Regions from separate parts of the Homo sapiens genome. Here region 2 is linked to region 1. Evidence: promoter capture Hi-C in 16 types of primary human blood cells and fetal thymus (Javierre and others, 2016). All regions are on one chromosome and are shown on one strand. Each heading gives the region's core, a stretch centred on a gene start or on the middle of the fragment in contact. The rest is flanking DNA. Distances are from core to core; before and after follow the strand shown. Region 1 holds the start of PNO1 (partner of NOB1 homolog). Region 2 holds the start of RAB1A (RAB1A, member RAS oncogene family).

The links. The method cuts DNA at HindIII sites, captures the fragments that hold promoters and counts their contacts. A CHiCAGO score of 5 or more calls a contact.
Region 2: the fragment with the promoter of RAB1A here is called in contact with the fragment with the promoter of PNO1 in region 1 in 1 of 17 cell types (M0 macrophages); the score reaches 7.0 in M0 macrophages.

What each region holds. Positions count from the first base shown.
Region 1 is chr2:68,156,520-68,159,856 of GRCh38, reverse strand. PNO1 (partner of NOB1 homolog) reads right to left here and starts at 1,969. Exons shown (of 7, transcript NM_020143.4): 1 at 1,716-1,969; 2 at 1,328-1,477. The coding sequence starts at 1,922. DNAAF10 (dynein axonemal assembly factor 10) reads left to right here and starts at 2,330. Exons shown (of 8, transcript NM_138458.4): 1 at 2,330-2,596. The coding sequence starts at 2,414. RefSeq lists enhancers at 1,658-1,757, 2,038-2,277, 2,558-2,697, 2,155-3,087. The HindIII fragment of the contact is 6,016 bases long and covers 1-3,337 here.
Region 2 is chr2:65,128,629-65,132,142 of GRCh38, reverse strand. It overlaps RAB1A (RAB1A, member RAS oncogene family), which reads left to right and starts at 2,037. Exons shown (of 6, transcript NM_004161.5): 1 at 2,037-2,250. The coding sequence starts at 2,228. RefSeq lists silencers at 1,539-1,888, 2,389-2,438 and enhancers at 1,741-2,254, 1,999-2,258, 2,255-2,769. The HindIII fragment of the contact is 2,599 bases long and covers 447-3,045 here.

The sequences.
Region 1 (3,337 bases), core at 720-3,219:
AATGAAGCAAGGGAAACCTACAACGAAACCACTCCTTGGCAGGAAACCATAAAAGCCTGAATGAGAGAATGGCAACAGGGACAAAGAGGAGTTACTCTATCATGTTCTATGATATTTTACACTTTATCAACTATTTAGAATAGTGCCTTTCTTTGTTCCATTATTATATTCCATTAACAGAGATGAGACTATACCAGTCCGGATGATGGTAAAAGAATCCTTAAAAAGGAAAATATAATTAATTTCGGTTATCGATTCTGGTATGAAATTGGCACCCAGAAAAGAAAGCCCAAAGTAAATTTAAATGTCTAATTCCCGGATTGATAGCACAGAATTTAAAATATATACATAGGCTCGGTGGGGCAGCTCACGCCTGTAATCCCAGCACTTTGGGAGGCCGAGATGTGATCACCTGAGGTCAGGAGTTCGAGACTAGCCTGGCCAACATGCTAAAACCCAGTCTCTACTAAAAATACAAAAATTAGCCAGGTTTGGTGGCAGGCACCTGTTAACAGTGAGCCAAGATCATGCCACTCACTCCAGCCTGGGTGAAAGAGCAAAATAAAAAGATATATATACACACACACACACACACACACACATATATATGCATGTTTCTTATCAAAATAATACATTTTTTAATCAAAAGAGCACCATTAAAACACAGTCATGCACTGCATAATGACATTTTGATCAGTGACCAACCGCTCATACCATGGTGGTCTCATAACAGTATAATGGAGAATATACAGAAACCTGATATATGGCACTGGATACCGGCAATGCAGATCAAGTAGATGAAATGACTGATATTCAGTAATGGTGCTGGGACATTTGGTTTTCCATATGAAAAAAATATATAAACAAATATACACATACCATCTAGGTTTGTGTAAGTACACTCTATAATATTCGCACAAGGACTAAGTCATCTGACAAAACATATCCCAGAACATATTCCCGACGCTGACTGTATATACTTCTTGTAAAGCAGCAAGTGCTTATATTCATTATTTACCTGCTTCTGTTTATGGCAATCTCTTTACTCGACCTTTTCTCAATTTGACATAGAACATTATAAAAGATACACAGAAGAAGAGCCAGTATTTTGGTGTGATCTCAGAACTAATTTACAAATTCAATTAATATTTGTATCGAATGCAGATTTTTAAGGCATTTGGGAAGTTCAAACTCAATATGGTAAATTTTTAAACTGGACAAAAACCATACAACAGAAAAGTCCCATTAAGTAAAGCCTATTCATGCCTTTTCATCTCTGTAGGAGAGAAAGCCTGGTGTATTGGGAAATGATTGAGATTTTCCTTACCCTGATTTCTACATTCCTTGATTTCAAGTTAAAGCGTATCTGAAGTCCCAAATGTTCCACAATAGGAGTAAATATCTTCATCCAGTTTTCTTTCAATGGTGTGTATCTGTTAGCTGGGACTGGAATTTTCCTTGTTTCTTCTTTCCCACTCTGTAAATAAAAGAACACACAACTCAGAAGGCTATGGAGGGACGGTGATGGAGTTTAAAATGACATCTGATCCACAAAGGGCCTCCTTTAACTGAACTAGTTACACTTCAAAGAATCACTTCTCTCTGAGCATCACGGCAGAACAGCCCCACCGCAGCTTCAACATTCTCCAGAGGCCATCGGCTTGATCCGCGTCTGGCCCTTGCCTCGTTGCTGTCCTAGGGTCCCAGCCACATACCAGGAGCCCGTCCCCACAGAGGGGTGGGAAGACGGGCCTCTTCGCCGGCCTGGCCTCCTCTGTGTCCATGCGGCCCGCATCCCCGCCCTCTCCTGCTGCGGACAGCTGTTCAGCCTGTCGTTTCTTCGCCCGTCGGCCACCCTTGCGGGTGACCTGGGTAAAGCCCTCCTCTGCCCTGGCGCTCTGCGTTTCCATTTCGGATTCCATCCCCGGAAATCTTAAAGCGCTGCCGGCTGAAACACGTGCGCAGCTGCACCACGCAGAAGCCAGCCTCAGCCAACCACCCCTGCAGCTCCGCCCCTTTCCTAAAACGTCACAGGCCGGGGACCTGCAGGATTTGGGGCCGGTGGGGGGGAAAACGGGGTTAGGCTGTCCTAAGATATGCCTGATGGTCTTGGGCTCACTCCAGCCGCGCAACTCCCAGCCCAAGTATTTTGTAATCTCTAGTATGTATGTGTGCGAAAGGCAGTGGGTAAAGGCGATAAACAAATTCGTGCTGTTGTGAAGGAACATTCTGTGCGATCGCAGGAGCGCATCTGGCATTATCCGGGGATAACTACAGCCAACATGCCAGGGCATCTGGGGCAGAATACGGAAAGCGGGAGGGACAAATTGCCAATGTTTGGAGTCTGGTTTCCAGGTTGCCGTTTTTGGGGGCTCTGGGTGTGGCGGTTGCCGTAGCTGAAATTGGCTGCACCATGTCGGCCTTCGAGAAGCCTCAGATCATCGCCCATATCCAGAAGGGCTTCAACTACACGGTGTTTGACTGTAAGTGGGTGCCCTGCAGCGCCAAATTTGTGACCATGGGCAACTTCGCACGGGGCACCGGCGTCATTCAGCTGTACGAGATCCAGCACGGGGACCTGAAGCTGCTTCGGGAGGTGGGTGCCGGGTCGAGGATCCGGACTGCCGTTGGGGGCGAGTGCGGATCCTGGGGTCTGCATTCCTCTTTGCCAGAGCCTTCGCCCAGCGTCCCCCAAAGCATGGCTTGAGCCGCGCGAGACCAGAGAAGCTGACCGCCGACTGAGGAATGTTTCCTATTTAAAACCTTTCTTCTCATCCGCGGGGTAGTTCCTCCGCGCCCAACCGTCCTGCCACCCCCAGTGCAGTCCAGCCAAAGCGGGCACCAGGATGCCTGCAGTGTGGTTGGAAGAGGCAACCTAACACATTCGACAGGCATCAGCTGAGTGCCTGGTATTCCCAGGGATGTGAATGGTAATGTCCCCCATCTCATGGAGTTTATTTTCTAGTGGGAGAGATACTCAGTTCAATAATCAAAGCAACGATACATAAATACAAACCGAGATGAGTTGTCTCACACAAAGGAACACGGTTACGGTTCAATGAGAGTGAAAACAGATTTGGGATGAATGAAAACAGATTTTGGTATGTGCAGAAGCTAACTAGGTCAAACTAGGAGTAAAGGACAAGGTTTCCAGGGCTTCTGCACATGCAGAAGCTCAGTGATGGGAAGAAGTTTATCTCCTTAAGAAACTAGAGGGATAAGCAGGAACCAGACATTGCAAGATCTGTAGGACATTCAAAGGATTTATGCCTTTTTTCTAAGAAAAAACGGACACAACTGAAAGGATTTAAGCAGGGTGTGGAAAGATTAGGTTTGC
Region 2 (3,514 bases), core at 788-3,287, 3.0 Mb after region 1:
TGTATTTTTGGCTGAGGACGAGTTCTGGACAGTTTTCTGAGGGTTTTTTGGGGGTGTGTGTGTGTGTGTGTGTGTGTGTGTGCCTTTACTAGTGACTCAGGTCACAGTTTTCTGAGATTTTTTTTCTCCCCTCAAGACAGAATCTTGCTCTGTCGCCCAGGCTGGAGTGCAGTGGCCTCTCGGCCCACTGTAGCCTCCGCCTCCCGGGTTCAAGCAATTTTCCTGCCTCAGCCTCCCGAGTAGCTGGGATTACAGGCACGCGCCACCATGCCTGGCTAATTTTTGTATTTTTAGTAGAGACAGTGTTTCACCATGTTGGCCAGGCTGGTCTTGAATTCCTGACCTCGTGATCTGTCCGTTTTGGCCTCTCAAATTCCTGAGATTACAGGCATGAGCCACCGAGCCTGGCCAGTTTTCTGAGTTTTTATTTGAAATCAAAATAAGCTTTTTTTTTTTTTAATGGGCTTTAGAGTCCAGGGTAACGAACACTTTTTGGTGCCTATTACTGAACCATTCAGGGTATTCCTGGGGTGGTGACCGTGTTCATTTCAGAAACCAACATGTTCATTTCAGAAACCAAACTCGGGTAACTTTTGATAAGTTCATCAACTAAGGCCCATGGCAGAATTTGAGGGCTAAGGGGTGTAATTAGTGTATGGGTAGAAATAAGTGCCTTCTTTCTATATTTTGGCGTTGTAGGAATTTAAAGTGATTCTGCAGTAAGTCTCAGGAGACAATTTTCTTAGTTCTTAGAAGTTGGAAGATAAACTTTGGACAATGTATTACACTATGCCCTTTGTAATTAAATAACTCAAGATAATGTGTTAAAGTTTAGCGGAGATTTAAATTCCTGAGCTGATTAAAGAGAGCTGTTAAGGCCATAGGTTTTTTAAAAATGAGTTAATATTACTCCCAGAAATTGTAGGCACTATATAGTGATGAATTGCCTATTTTTATTGCTTATTATTTTCCAGTCTTGCAGAATGGCTCAGGGTTAGTAGCAACTAAAAGATAATACATTACAATTCAACCTGAAGGCCGGGACGAAGGTAGGAATTGGATTTTAGGCTGGCTCTGGGCTGTGTCCCTCCCATCCATGGGATGTGGAGCCATTGAAGGTTGTGGGGTCACGATGCAGGTGCTGTCTCAGAAAGATACATCCGACTGTGTGTGCAAATGGGCTGGGGCGGAGAGGAGAGAGAGAGGTAGAGTCCATTTGGAGACTACTGCAATAGCCAGGCTGACGAGTTAAGAGCGGGGCACAGTAAGAATGGGAAGAAATCTAAGAAGAAAATGGTAGTGCGCGGGGCCAACAATGGACGATGACCGAACCCAGGTGGGGATGGGTGAGTGACGAGAAGAACCGCTCCGTGCCGTCCAGGGAGCCCCTTGACTTCCCTTCTGTTCTTAGAGCGGACGTCCTCCTACCAGCCCCCAACCAGCGCCACCAGGGTGGCGCAAGCCTCAAGCTGGTCAGGTCAGCAACAGCCGCAACGGAGGCAGGAGCCGACACGCTCGTACCCCGGCCCCCTCCCCGCCCCCGCACCCCCGGCAGTCCCTCCGGTTTGACCACTCCCCCCGGTCCCTTGCCTCCCCCGACCCCCAGCCTCCGTCGGCCGCCGGCACCACCCTCCGCCCCTCTCCGCCCCCTCCCCCGTGGGGCGCTGACTCGCCCGGCTGCCACGTCTCACTGATGACATCACTAGGGCAGCTCGGCCTTAGCCAATCCGCCAGGGGGAGTCCGAGCGAAGTCCTAGCCAGCGAGTCAGAGGGGAGGGGAGCAGGGAGGGGCCGAGGGTGGGGAGGTGAGGGAGTGGGGAATGGGGCGGGCGACAACCCTTCAGGTACGCATGCCCCAGAGGCGCGGCGCTTGGCGGGAAGCTGAGTCCTGGCCTTGCGTCGCACTGTCTGTCCTCAGCTCGCGTAGCCGCGCTCGCGACTCCCTTTCCCGGCATGCCAGGCGGTGCGGCCGCCCTCTGGGCCGTGTAAAGGCCCCTCGGTCTAAGGCTTCCCTATTTCCTGGTTCGCCGGCGGCCATTTTGGGTGGAAGCGATAGCTGAGTGGCGGCGGCTGCTGATTGTGTTCTAGGGGACGGAGTAGGGGAAGACGTTTGCTCTCCCGGAACAGCCTATCTCATTCCTTTCTTTCGATTACCCGTGGCGCGGAGAGTCAGGGCGGCGGCTGCGGCAGCAAGGGCGGCGGTGGCGGCGGCGGCAGCTGCAGTGACATGTCCAGCATGAATCCCGAATAGTGAGTTCAGGAGAGCACCGGTCGGCTGGGTCCGTGGGCCAGCTTGGGGGATCTTAAAGGGGTCGAGGAGGGTTGGGGCAGAAGTCGGGGCATCGGCTGGGGTGAGGCGAGGGTGATGGGTCAGGAGAGGCTGGCGGCCGGGAGTCGGGCCCCATTGTCTGACGCGGAGGGGCGGCCGCGCGGGGGAGGGGTCGGGCCGGAGGGGTGAGCCGCCCGGGCCTGGACCGGGTCAGGTTAGAGGGCCTGACTGCGGGGCGGGTGCTGAGGAAGCCTGCCGAGGGGCCTGGGGCGGTGTGAAGGGGTATCTTCTCTCGGAGGCAGTGACTTTTGAAGGAGGACTTGTCTCTAAGGGGAGGGGATGGGGTGGGAGAGCCCTTCTAGAGGGCACTGTCAGACCCTGCGCCCGCACTCTGCGGAGCTGTCAGGATCTTCGGGGTAGAAACCAGCTTTACTTGTAAATCCTGAGCTTGTTGGCTCTCTCTCCTTCCATCCTCCCCGCCAGGTTTCAGGTAATATGGATGCTTTTCGGGACTGCGTGGGATTGAGGGGAATGAGTAGATGGTGAGAAGCAACTGAACATTTATTAGTTCTCTTTTTGAGTTGTGTCTTGGAGGAGTTGTTTAAGAGCTCGCCGGGTCCATTGCCCTCCTATAAAAACCTGGGCATTTGTGAGAATTTTGTTTTTTTTTTTTTTAAAGAGGACACCTAAGTCATTTTGTCTTCTGTGGGTCAAGGGAAAAAAAAAAAACTAAAGCCAAGAAATGTCTTTTTGATACTCGCAGATTAAAGGAAGCTTGCTGTCAAGTTGAAAGAGAAACGAACGGGACCTATGATAGATCTGTATGTAGGTTTTGGATTACCTGCTTGGATGCTTGCAGATAGGGAATGAGGTTCCATGACGTGTCATGAAAAGTTAATGCATTTCTTTTTCTTGCTTACTCAAGAAGTCACCACAGCAGATGTGACACACCTGGCACCTTTCCTGGGAACTGGTGTTCACTTCCCTTGGGTAGAGTTTGTTGGGCTCTCCTCAATGGCCCTTTAAAAATTTCCTCTACAGTTTACATGCATGTAAAGTAATGAATAATTGGAAGAGACCGAATTGGTATTCCTTTTCAGTGTCAAAGGCCTTTGAGGGATGGGGGAACATCAGTATTTGTTGTAAAAGTTGAGTTTATTTGCTGGTTTGGTCAATTACTGCTAGACATTTTCCCCTAAAAGGTCCACCCACCAGTTTAGCTGACTGTCATATGTGTGTCACATG